Regions from separate parts of the Homo sapiens genome. Here region 1 is linked to region 2. The links are contacts of gene promoters, found by promoter capture Hi-C in blood cells and fetal thymus (Javierre and others, 2016). All regions are on one chromosome and are shown on one strand. The core of a region is centred on a gene start or on the middle of the fragment in contact, and the rest is flanking DNA. Distances in the headings are between cores, read along the strand shown.

The links. Contacts are between HindIII fragments. The CHiCAGO score rates a contact against its expected background, and 5 or more counts as called.
Region 1: a contact is called between a fragment that was not itself captured here and the fragment with the promoter of AFAP1L1 in region 2, in 2 of 17 cell types (M1 macrophages and M0 macrophages). The highest score is 5.4, in M1 macrophages.

Annotation. Positions count from the first base shown.
Region 1 is chr5:148,747,661-148,753,250 of GRCh38, reverse strand. No RefSeq gene overlaps it. Among named protein-coding and RNA genes, the nearest start is that of ADRB2, 76 kb to the left of the region's middle. The HindIII fragment of the contact is 355 bases long and covers 2,018-2,372 here.
Region 2 is chr5:149,268,736-149,273,691 of GRCh38, reverse strand. It overlaps AFAP1L1 (actin filament associated protein 1 like 1), which reads right to left and starts at 1,833. Exons shown (of 19, transcript NM_152406.4): 1 at 1,708-1,833. The coding sequence starts at 1,723. RefSeq lists enhancers at 233-772, 773-1,314, 1,315-1,854. The HindIII fragment of the contact is 5,831 bases long and covers 1-4,956 here.

The DNA of each region.
Region 1 (5,590 bases), core at 946-3,445, 520 kb after region 2:
GCACAGCAAAATAAACTATTATCAGAGCGAACAGGCAACCTACAGAATGGGAGAACATTTTTGCAATCTACCCATCTGACAAAGGGCTAATATCCAGAATCTACAAAGAACTTAAACAAATTTACACACACACACACACACACACACACATACACACACACACAAACAATCCCATCAAAAAGTGGGTGAAGGATGTGAACAGACACTTCTCAAAAAAAGACATTTATACAGCCAACAAACATATGAAAAAAAGCTCATCATCACTTGGTCATTAGAGAAATGCAAATCAAAACCACAGTGAGATACCATCTCATGCCAGTTAGAATGGCCATCATTAAAAAGTCAGGAAACAACAGATGCTGGAGAGGATGTGGAGAAATAGGAATGCTTTTACACTGTTGGTGGGAGTGTAAATTAGTTCAACCATTGTGGAAGACAGTGTGGTGATTCCTCAAGGATCTAGAACCAGAAATACCATTTTACCCAGCAATCCCATTACTGGGTGTATACCCATAGGATTATAAATCATTCTACTATAAAGACACATGCACACATATGTTTATTGTGGCACTGTTCACAATAGCAAAGACTTGGAACCAACCCAAATGCCCCTTAATGATAGACTGGATAAAGAAAATGTGGCACATATACACCATGGAATACTATGCAGCCATAAAAAAGGAGGAGTTCATGTCCTTTGCAGGGACATGGATGATGCTGGAAGCCATCATTCTCATTAAATTAACACAGGAGCAGAAAACCAAATACCACATGTTCTCACTCATAAGCAGGAGCTGATCAGTGAGAATACATGGACACAGAGAGGGGAACATCACACACTGGGGCCTGTTGGGGGGTGGGGGGCTAGGAGAGGGATAGCATTAGGAGAAATACCTAATGTAGATGACGGGTTGATGGGTGCAGCAAACCACCATGGCACATGTATACTTATGTAACAAACCTGCACGTTCTGCACATGAACCCCAGAACTTAAAGTATAATAAAAAATGTATGTAAAAAAAAGAAAATGTGATGTATGTATACAATGGGATATTATTCAGCCTTAAAATGGAAAGGAAATCCTGCCATTTGCAAACATATGGATGTACTTGGAGGATATTATGCTAAGTATTATAAGCCAGACACAGAATGACAAACACAACATGACACTATTTATACAACAAATATAAAATAGTCAAACTCTTAGAAGCAGACAATGAATGGTGGTTGCCAGGGACTGAGGAGAGGACATATTAGAAGGTGTTAGTTGAAAGTTTCAAAGGTTTGGTGATACATAATGAATAAGTTCTAAAGGTTTACTGCACGACATAGTGCTTATAGTTAACAATACTGTATAGTATACTTAAAAATTTGCTGAATGGGTAGATGTTATATGAAGTGAGCTTATCACATACACACACACATACATACAAATAATATATAAGAGGAGAGGGGAAAAATTTTGCTTTATATTTATCTCCAAACTCGTCAAGTTGTACATATTAAATATGTGTAGCTTTTTGCATGTCAATCCTACCTTAATAAAGTGGCTTAAAAGAGGAAGAGTATTATAAGGTTCAAACCACAAGAAGAAAGCCAGAAGAAAGCAGGTAGTCCTGGGAGAGACACTATACCACTGTGGTTTTCAAGTCTGAGACACTGACCAGCCCCTTTAAGAAAAAAGAAATTTCTCATAGTCCCCATCATTGATATGTCCCTTTTATTATAATGTTATTTACACATACACAAACATAAAAGTAGGAATAAATCATTCATTTTATAGTTGTATATAACCAAAGTAGCAAAATAACTTTTTAGTTAAATGTACTATGAATAAAATTATAAAACAACTAAAATTTAAGTGGCCAAATTAATTGTGATGGATAATCTCACATGGCTAAAAGGAATTCTCTGCTCACATCTAGTCTAGCGAGGTTCTTTGGAGTTTGACTTGTCTATTCACTCTTGAGCCTCAGTTCTTTCATCACACTTTCTCTGTGGGCATTGTTGCAAAGCTTTAGTCCCACGAAGATCCATGATGTCATCTGACTTTCACATGATGCAAGTGTATCACTTTTTCATTAAGATTGCCTCCTTTTTCTTCATTAACTCATGACAACTGAGTACTATTACTTGGATACAATTTGTTTGCAAATACAACAAATACAAACACTGAAATCTCATAAGGTAGTCATGCAGGTAACCCAAGCATGAGAAACATTTGAATGATAAATTCAAATGCAAAATTGTAGCATTATCATAGGATGCCTAAGAATTTGTGGATATCTGAGGCTGCACTGAGAAGCACTAGTGCTATAGAAAGATTTACTGTGCCTACAGCCTCTTTCTAAGGGAGCTGACGTTTCTAAGCTTCTGCTGCTCAAGTGGCTATATCCTGTGCCTTATCACCCATTGGCCTTTCCCCATCTCTGCACTCTGGCCTCGCATTCTGGCCACTGTGGGTTGGGGCAGGAAGGGGGTGTGCACTTGAACCATGAGCGTGGAATCCACTGGCTGGCTAGTGGCCAGAAATTTTTAGAGGCAAAAAAAGAAGTTGGAAACATTTCCACCCTCTCACTTTTCTCCCCAAAATATGGAGGAAAGTTACCAATCGACAACACACACGAATGCAGAAAGGTGATGCCAAATAACAGCTAGAGAGCTATGTCACTCATAAGTAAAGTGAAGTTATGGGGCCATGGACACCGTAACCATTTTGAATCACTCTTCGGTTTTAGACGCCTATAAACCCAGCTCAAGTTAATGTCAGAAAAAAAAAAAAAAAAAAGGCTGGGCGCGGTGGCTCATGCCTGTAATCACAGCAGTTTGGGAGGCCGAGGTGGGCGGATCATGAGGTCAGGAGATCGAGACCATCCTGGCTAACACGGTGAAACCCCTTCTCTACTGAAAATACAAAAAATTAGCCAGGCATGGTGGTGGGCGTCTGTAGTCCCAGCTACTCGGGAGGCTGAGGCAGGAGAATGGTGTGAACCCGGGAGGCGGAGCTTGCAGTGAGCCAAGATTGCACCACTGCACTCCAGCCTGGGCGACAGAGGAAGACTCCATCTCAAAAAAAAAAAAAAAAAAAAAAAAGGAAATGTAGGCCCAGTGCCGTGGCTCACGCCTGTAATCTCAGCACTTTGGGAGGCTGAGGTGAGTGGATCACCTGAGGTTGGGAGTTCAAGACCAGCCTGGCCAACATGGTGAAACTCCATCTCTACTAATAATACAAAATTAGCCAGATATGGTGGTGCATGCCTGTAATCCCAGCTACTCGGGAGGCTGAGGCAGGCAAATTGCTTGAACTGGGGAGGCAGAGGTTGCAGTGAGCCAAGTTCATGCCATTGTACTCCAGCCTGGGCAACAAGAGTGAAACTCCGTCTCGAAAAATATATAAATAAATAAAAATAAAAAAGGAAATGTAATTGCTCCAAGATGGGAAAATCAATGATTTCATCTGAACCAAGCCTTTCTCTTTCTACTAGTTCTATTATCCTATATGTTTACTTTATTCCAAGACATCACGTGAGGGTAAGAAGGAAAGTGGGCACATCACTCTACCAATAAATAAAAGTCTTGCATCTCGTTAGCTCTAACCAAGTCTATGGGCCCATCCCTAAAGAAATTTGTGAGACCTAAAGAGTTTAAGGCTCTGATTCACATGCCCCATCCTTAGAGTAATCAATTATGTTGTTACATCTTCTATAAGCACATGGACTCAAAACAAGAGCAGATGTTCCCCAGACGTGAACTTGGAGAAGGGTAAAGGGGCATTTGGCAGCTGGGTAAAGGGGCATTTGGCAGCAACAGCATCACATATCCACTACACATCCCTGTAGGTCCCAGTTTCTTTGTAGATTGGTTATAATAATAATCCTTCTCTGCCTCTCTCTTAAGACTGCTGTGAGAATCAAATGATGAAGTGGATGTAAAAATGTTTCTGAACTACAAAATGCACACAACATAAGGTATTATTGCTTAAAGGGCTCACTATCTCCCCTTTTCGAGTGCACAAGCCCATAACCAAGCTGAATGGGCAGTTTCCACCCTACTGACTGTAAGAAGTTTCCTGGGATCAGTTCCTCTTGCAGGATTCAAGAGTGTACCCCTAATTTTATTTTGGGCAGCACATGTAGTTCACAAAATGCAAACATTTCTCATTTTAATTACCTCCACTGGAACTTTATGGAGTCATTCATTTTCGTGATACTAAGGCTTTCCCATTATCCACATCTTCTTTTACTTCACAAGCTTAGAAGGCATGGACAACTTGCATTTTTACCGGAATGTAGAATGGAAGAGAATGGTTGTAGCTCAAAAGAGGAAGGGGCCAAGAAAGCTAACAACTTCTGCATACTGAAGGCTTCCTTGATTTTGAAATGCATATGTTTCAACAACCAGAGAACACTGCATTCCTCGCATGTCTTCTTTAGGACAGTGCACAATTTGAAGTAAGATTTGTTAGGTTAGATTGGTGTTTAGGTAAGCAACCCTTCAGGGGGGATGGCCAGTGATGAGAGAGGTGGCAGATTTGGCAACAATAATAGTGAAACAATGGGGCCTGCTTTCTGGGTGTCTTTGATGGAAAACTGAGCCTGGGTATTCCTGAAAGAAGCTGAAAACTAAGGCACGTATGGAAAGGTTCTGATGAGAATTTTGAGTTATAAATTGGAAAAGCATACGTGAACTTCTGGATTTTTATAACTGTATTGGATATCAATCCCATCCTTAGTTCTAAGCAAATTCAATATATACTTGTGCCAACTTTTTATATACAACTCGTGTCAACATAAGGATTATATTTTTTTAAGGTAATCTTTGGAGAAAGATGGCTTGGAAATCTATCAATTCCTTGGTAATCTGCAGGCCACTGTAGCATAGAGTGCCTTTTTGGGAATAACAAAATGGCACCTGCTCCAAATGGATAAGTACAAGAAGGTGTGTTCTCCTCCAGGCTAAGGCAGTGCCTTACTAAGGCTCTTGCCTGGCTCAGGATGGAATCCCAGGTACAGGCACAGATGATACACTCACAAAATAAAAACTTGACAACCTGTGCATCCTAGTTTATTTGAATTTGGGGATACAGAAAGGACAAAAGAGACATACCTGTTGTTTTAGACAGTGTTTTAGGGGACAGCTCCTTAGAGCAGAAGTTAATGAAGGGCCTGAAAAAGAATTAACTAAAAAGACATTTTAAAACTTGGGTGCATGATCTTCAACCCAAGGAATTTCTATGTAGGATGTCAGGGGTAAGAGCTAGATGTGCATCTTGGAAATGCTCCCTGTGATATGCTGATGCCCAGTCCCGGCTGCATCAATTATTTCCTGGCCGGCTTACTGAGATCATTGGATATCTCTTTTTTTCCTCCCTCCTTGAGTTTATTGGGTTCCTCAACATGCAGTCAGAAATAGCTTTCTGAGACACCCCTTCTCTCTCCTTAGGAACCCACTGTTCAGTAATCTCTCCCTCCTCTTAATTCTTTTAGCACTTTATCTTGCTCACACAACACTTATCACCATGTTCTGTATTGTAGTTATTTATGAACATGTCTTATCTTCCAACACATAAGCCCCAAAAAGGCTGAGACTC
Region 2 (4,956 bases), core at 584-3,083:
TGCCTCTTCTCTCTGTTTTTCCTCCCTGATGTACACTCTTCACACTTGCCTAGAAATCAGTTAACAGGTGAGAACTGCTTTACAAATCTAGGCCTCAGTTGCTAAAGAACCAAACAGAAGCCCACTCTCTTTCCTGCCTGCCCTTCCCAGTCCCTGAAGGAGAAGGTGAATGCAGTATTCTCTGTTGGGGAGGGGCAAGTGAGGAGGTTGAACTGGAAGCCAGGAGTCCCCTCTGGCCCTCTGAGCTCGCCAAGCCTGACTTTCCGTTTAACAGGAGTAAGGGAGGTTACCCCACACCTGCTCCCGGCTCATCCCTGCCCCAGTGCCTGCTAATTGCTCCCATGCCCCTGTTCCCTTCTTTTTTTCCTCCCTTCGGGGGCTCAGCACAGCAAACAGGCAGATGGGGGAGAGGTGTGAGATTATCGTGGGGAGGGGAATGAATTTTCCATTATTAATAACAGCAACAACAACAACACTTCGCCTGTTGGCACAGCACTCACTAGTTTATCTAGTGCCGTCACACCTGTGATCTCTTTGGATCCCAGAGGTGCAGACTGAAACCCTGGGGTTCTGATTCCCAGCCTCTGACACTGTTCACATGTCCAAGCAGGCCACTTCTTTACAGACACACACATGCCCATCTGGCCATTGCCAAAGGCCATGTCTAGACCTTTACTTAAAATGTGCGCTGCCGGGCGCGGTGGCTCACGCCCGTAATCCCAGCACTTTGAGAGGCCGGGGCCGGCTGATCACCTGAGGTCAGGAGCTCCAGACCAGCCTGGCCAATATGGTGAAACCCCGTCTCTGTTAAAAATACAAAAATTAGCCGGGTGTGGTGGCGCATGCCTCTAATCCCAGCTATTCGGGAGGCTGAGGTAGGAGAATCGCTTGAACCCGGGAGGCGGAGGTTGCAGTGAGCCAAGATCGCGCCACTTCACTCCAGCCTGGGCAACAAGAGCGAAACTCCGTCTCAAACAAAACAAAACAAACAGAAAAAAATGTGCGCTAGCCCCCTACGAATGCTGCCCTCTCGGCTTATGTCAATCTCAATTTCAGTAAGTCCCCTCCACTTCTGTGAAACGTCTACCAAATACACTGGAAAAGGGTCGGCAAGGTGCCTTGGAGACCATCTAGTCCAACTTTGTCGCTGGTCCAGAGAGAAGGGCTGGGCCGAGGACACAGCTGGTGCGGGATAGAACCACCCCCGCCTCCTCCCTCCCTGGCGCACACATGCATGCACACGCGCGCCTGCTCACGGCGCTCCTCCTTCTCGCAATGCCCTAGGCAGCTGCAAACTTCGGTCCCCTAGAGCTTCTCCCTAGGGGCTGCCCACAGCGGGTGTTTCGGGAGTTGAACCTGTACACCTTGTTTTCCCCTTTAGAGTGGAATGAGGTGGGAGGAGCTCGCTGTCCTCCGGAAACTAGAGGGGGATCTTTTATGAAGTTACAAATCGTTAGCCTATGAAAACTCTGATTTCACACACGAGAGGCGAGTTGGCCCCAGGACACGGGCGTTGACACGCACCGGGTTGTCCCGGCAGCCGAAGGCACCTTTGCATAAGCGCCGCGTCTCCCAGTCCCCTCCGAGCGTTCCTCAGCCCCCGCCCCACCGCCCGCCTCTCTCCCTCCTCCTCTCCGGCTTCAGATCGTCCAGTCTCCCTTTCCCGCCCGGCGCCGCAACAAGTGCGGGCGTCGCGGCCCCTCTTACCCTGGCCTCGGTCCATGGCGCCGGCCCGGTCCCCGGGGAGCGGGCCGCAGGGCGCAGGGGCTCCGGCGCGGCTGGTAGCGGCCGGCGCGCTGCGCTCTCAGGCCAGCCCAGCGGCCGGCGCTCTCTGCGGTCCCCTCCCCCAGACAGGATGCTCGCCGGCAGCCCCCGCCCCGCCCGCGCCCGCGCCCGCCCCTCAGAGCCGCTCCCGGAATAGACCCGAGCACGCCTCGCCCCCTGGGCCGCAGCCCGCTGTCCCGTGGTGCCGCACACGCCCCGCCGCGCCCTGCCGCTCGCTCGCCCTCCGCGGCGCTCCCACTTGGGCTTGGAGGACCCTTTTCCCCGTCCGCACGCGTTCGTTCCCGCGCCCGCGCGGCCTGCCCCAGCCCGGACCCAGGAGGTGTGCGGCTTTGCTTGCACTCCGCTAGCGATGGGGTCTTACCACCGCACCCCTCAGCCGGCTCCATGCCGGAATGCGGAGACTGTTGGAGCGCGTTTTTATCCTAGGGAATCAAAACCCCCTTCCCTGCAGCCGCCACCCATTTCCTGGCTTTGGGCTTGTCTTCTCCATTCGCCGCGGGTCTTTCTTGAGCACCTTCTAAGCCAGACAGTGGGCCCGCGGCGATGCCGGTGCAATGTCAGTGGTGTTGCGAAAGAGGAGTTAAATAATAACAAAGATCTTCAGAAAGAAAAGCACCTGGGAAAGGGAGAAAGAGAGGCTTGCTGAAAGGTGGGCAAGGGCTTGGGACACTTTCAACTTTTGAGGTTCCTTGTGTACTAAAACGTGAAAACATAACGAGGATCTGGGAGAATTCAGAAAAAGAATAGAAAAATGAGTAACACGTGAAAACATGCAGAACAGGGTGATAAAAAATGTGGAAATGAATACTTTTAGCATACAAAATACAGTGCAATATAAGTGTACTTTTCGCAAGATTGTAGAAAATATTGCTATGACCAGTGTGGAACAGTAATGGGATCTAAGTTTAAAGCTGTATGAAGAATGTCAACTTCTTCACCTTATTAGTATATCCCTGTGAAAATAGGTCTCACTCATTTATACACAATATCAAATGTCTGACTTTAAGACCCTTCATAAAGTCCAGGACCAATTGTTCTCCTAGACACTGCTCCTCCCACCATGGGCCAGGCCATGGTTTTCAGCTTTGAGCTGACCACTGTTCCCTACTTAGAACATTCTGGAACAGGGAACAGCTACCACAGAGGTATGGAGGCAACAAAAGGCCTGGGAAAGACCCTCCTGTACTTTCCTGGACTGGGAATATTTTCTTTTCTTCTTTTTTTTTTTTCTTGAAAAGTCTCCCTTTGTCGCCGAGGCTGGAGTGCAGTGGCGCGATCTCGGCTCACTGCAACCTCTGCCTCCCGGGTTCAAGCAATTCTCCTGCCTCAGCCTCCTGAGTAGCTGGAATTACAGGCGCCCACCATCACTCCGGGCAAATTTTTGTATTTTTAGTAGAGACGACGTTTCGCCATGTTGGCCAGGCTGGTCTCGAACTCCTGACCTCAGGTGATCCACCTGCCTCGGCCTCCCAAAGTGCTGGGATTACAGGCGCCAGCCACCTAGCCTGGCCGGGAATATTTTCTCTATTGCTTTTATGGGCAAATTAAAATTAACATTTTCTTAAAATATTGCATCAGTAATTTAGTGTGTGTGTGTGTGAGCACTCAGACCAAATGTGATGTTGTGAACAGTGTATGAAAACTTGTGCATGGCTCTTGTTCTGTTAGTTTGGTGCAAAAGTAATAGTGGTTTTTGCCACTGAAAGTAATGGCAAAAAACGCTATTACTTTTGCTCCAATCTAAATACTACATAGTATAATAACTTTTCGTCAATGAGGTTTTCTTGCTCATCTGTGCTATGGGAAGCCTCATACTGTAAGTCCTCACAGGACTGTTGGTAGGGCAAATGAAATAATACAAACCCACTTTATAAACCACAAACAGCTATAAAATATGAGCCATTATTATTTTCTGAGTTCCTTTTTGTTGCTGTCCCCTTTTCCAATTTGAAAAGGTCAGTTTCAATTCTAAAGCAGCCAACCAACAATTTACCAGTGGATTAAGTTTTAAAAGTTTATTGTTTGAACTCTGAACACTTGGAAACAAGGCCATAAATTGTATTTTATTTTATTTTTTAATTATTATTATTATTATTTTTTGTATTTTAGTAGAGACGGGGTTTTACCATGTTGGCCAGGATGGCCTCGATCTCCTGACCTCGTGATCCACCCGCCTCAGCCTCCCAAAGTGCTGGGATTACAGGCGTGAGCCACCGCGCCCGGCCTCCCATAAATTGTATTTTAAGTTCTCAGGCTAGCTCACTAATTCTTCTAAAAACATAATATTTCATTTGAAATAATTTAGAAAAACAGTATGAAATGTTACTATTGCAAAAACAGACGGAGGCTTTTGTAAATATTTTTATTTTTATAATGTTTAAAAAAATATTTAAGATAGAGACAAGGTTTCACTATGTTGCCCAAGCTGGTCTCGAACTTCTGAGATCAAATGCTCCTCCGGCCTCGGCCTCCCAAAGTGCTAGGATGACAGGCATGAGCCTGTAGAGATGTTTAGAGAACTTTCAGAAACTTTCAAGGACTTTGGAGATATATTCAGAGAATTGGAACGAAAAAGTAAAAAAGGCTAAGGAAAATGGAATAATTTATGGAGTGGAATTAACTGAGCTGTGGTCTGGGAAGGATATAGAAATGGGAGAACACAGTCTGTGCACAGTTCTGAGAATCAACAAAAAATTGTTGCTGGCAAGGTATAGGGGTTCTGGTTTAAATAATTACCCATAATGTCCACTAGGTGGCAATGTTGACTAGTTGTCTACAGCTTGGTTGCTGTCAGAGTAACTGAGATGGATGAAAAAGTTATTTGCGGGTTTGGACAAGGAATAACTTTTTTTTTTTTCTGTATGTTTCCTTTAGTGAGTTCTATATTCCTCATAAAAACTAACAATCCACACTGCCCATAAATTCGCTTAGGCAATATTGATTGCACTCTGTGCAAGTTTCTATTGAGAGAAGAAATGCTAAGTAGGAATGATTCTCACCCTCAGGGAATCTACAATCTAGTAGAGGAGACAGACATGTATAAAATAATATAATATAAATTATTGTATGAAAAGTACCAGAGGAGAAATAAAGTGGTCTTGGAGTCCATCAGACAAAGTAAGACTTTTTTACTAATCATGGAGGCTGTAATGGATGACAGATATTTGGAAG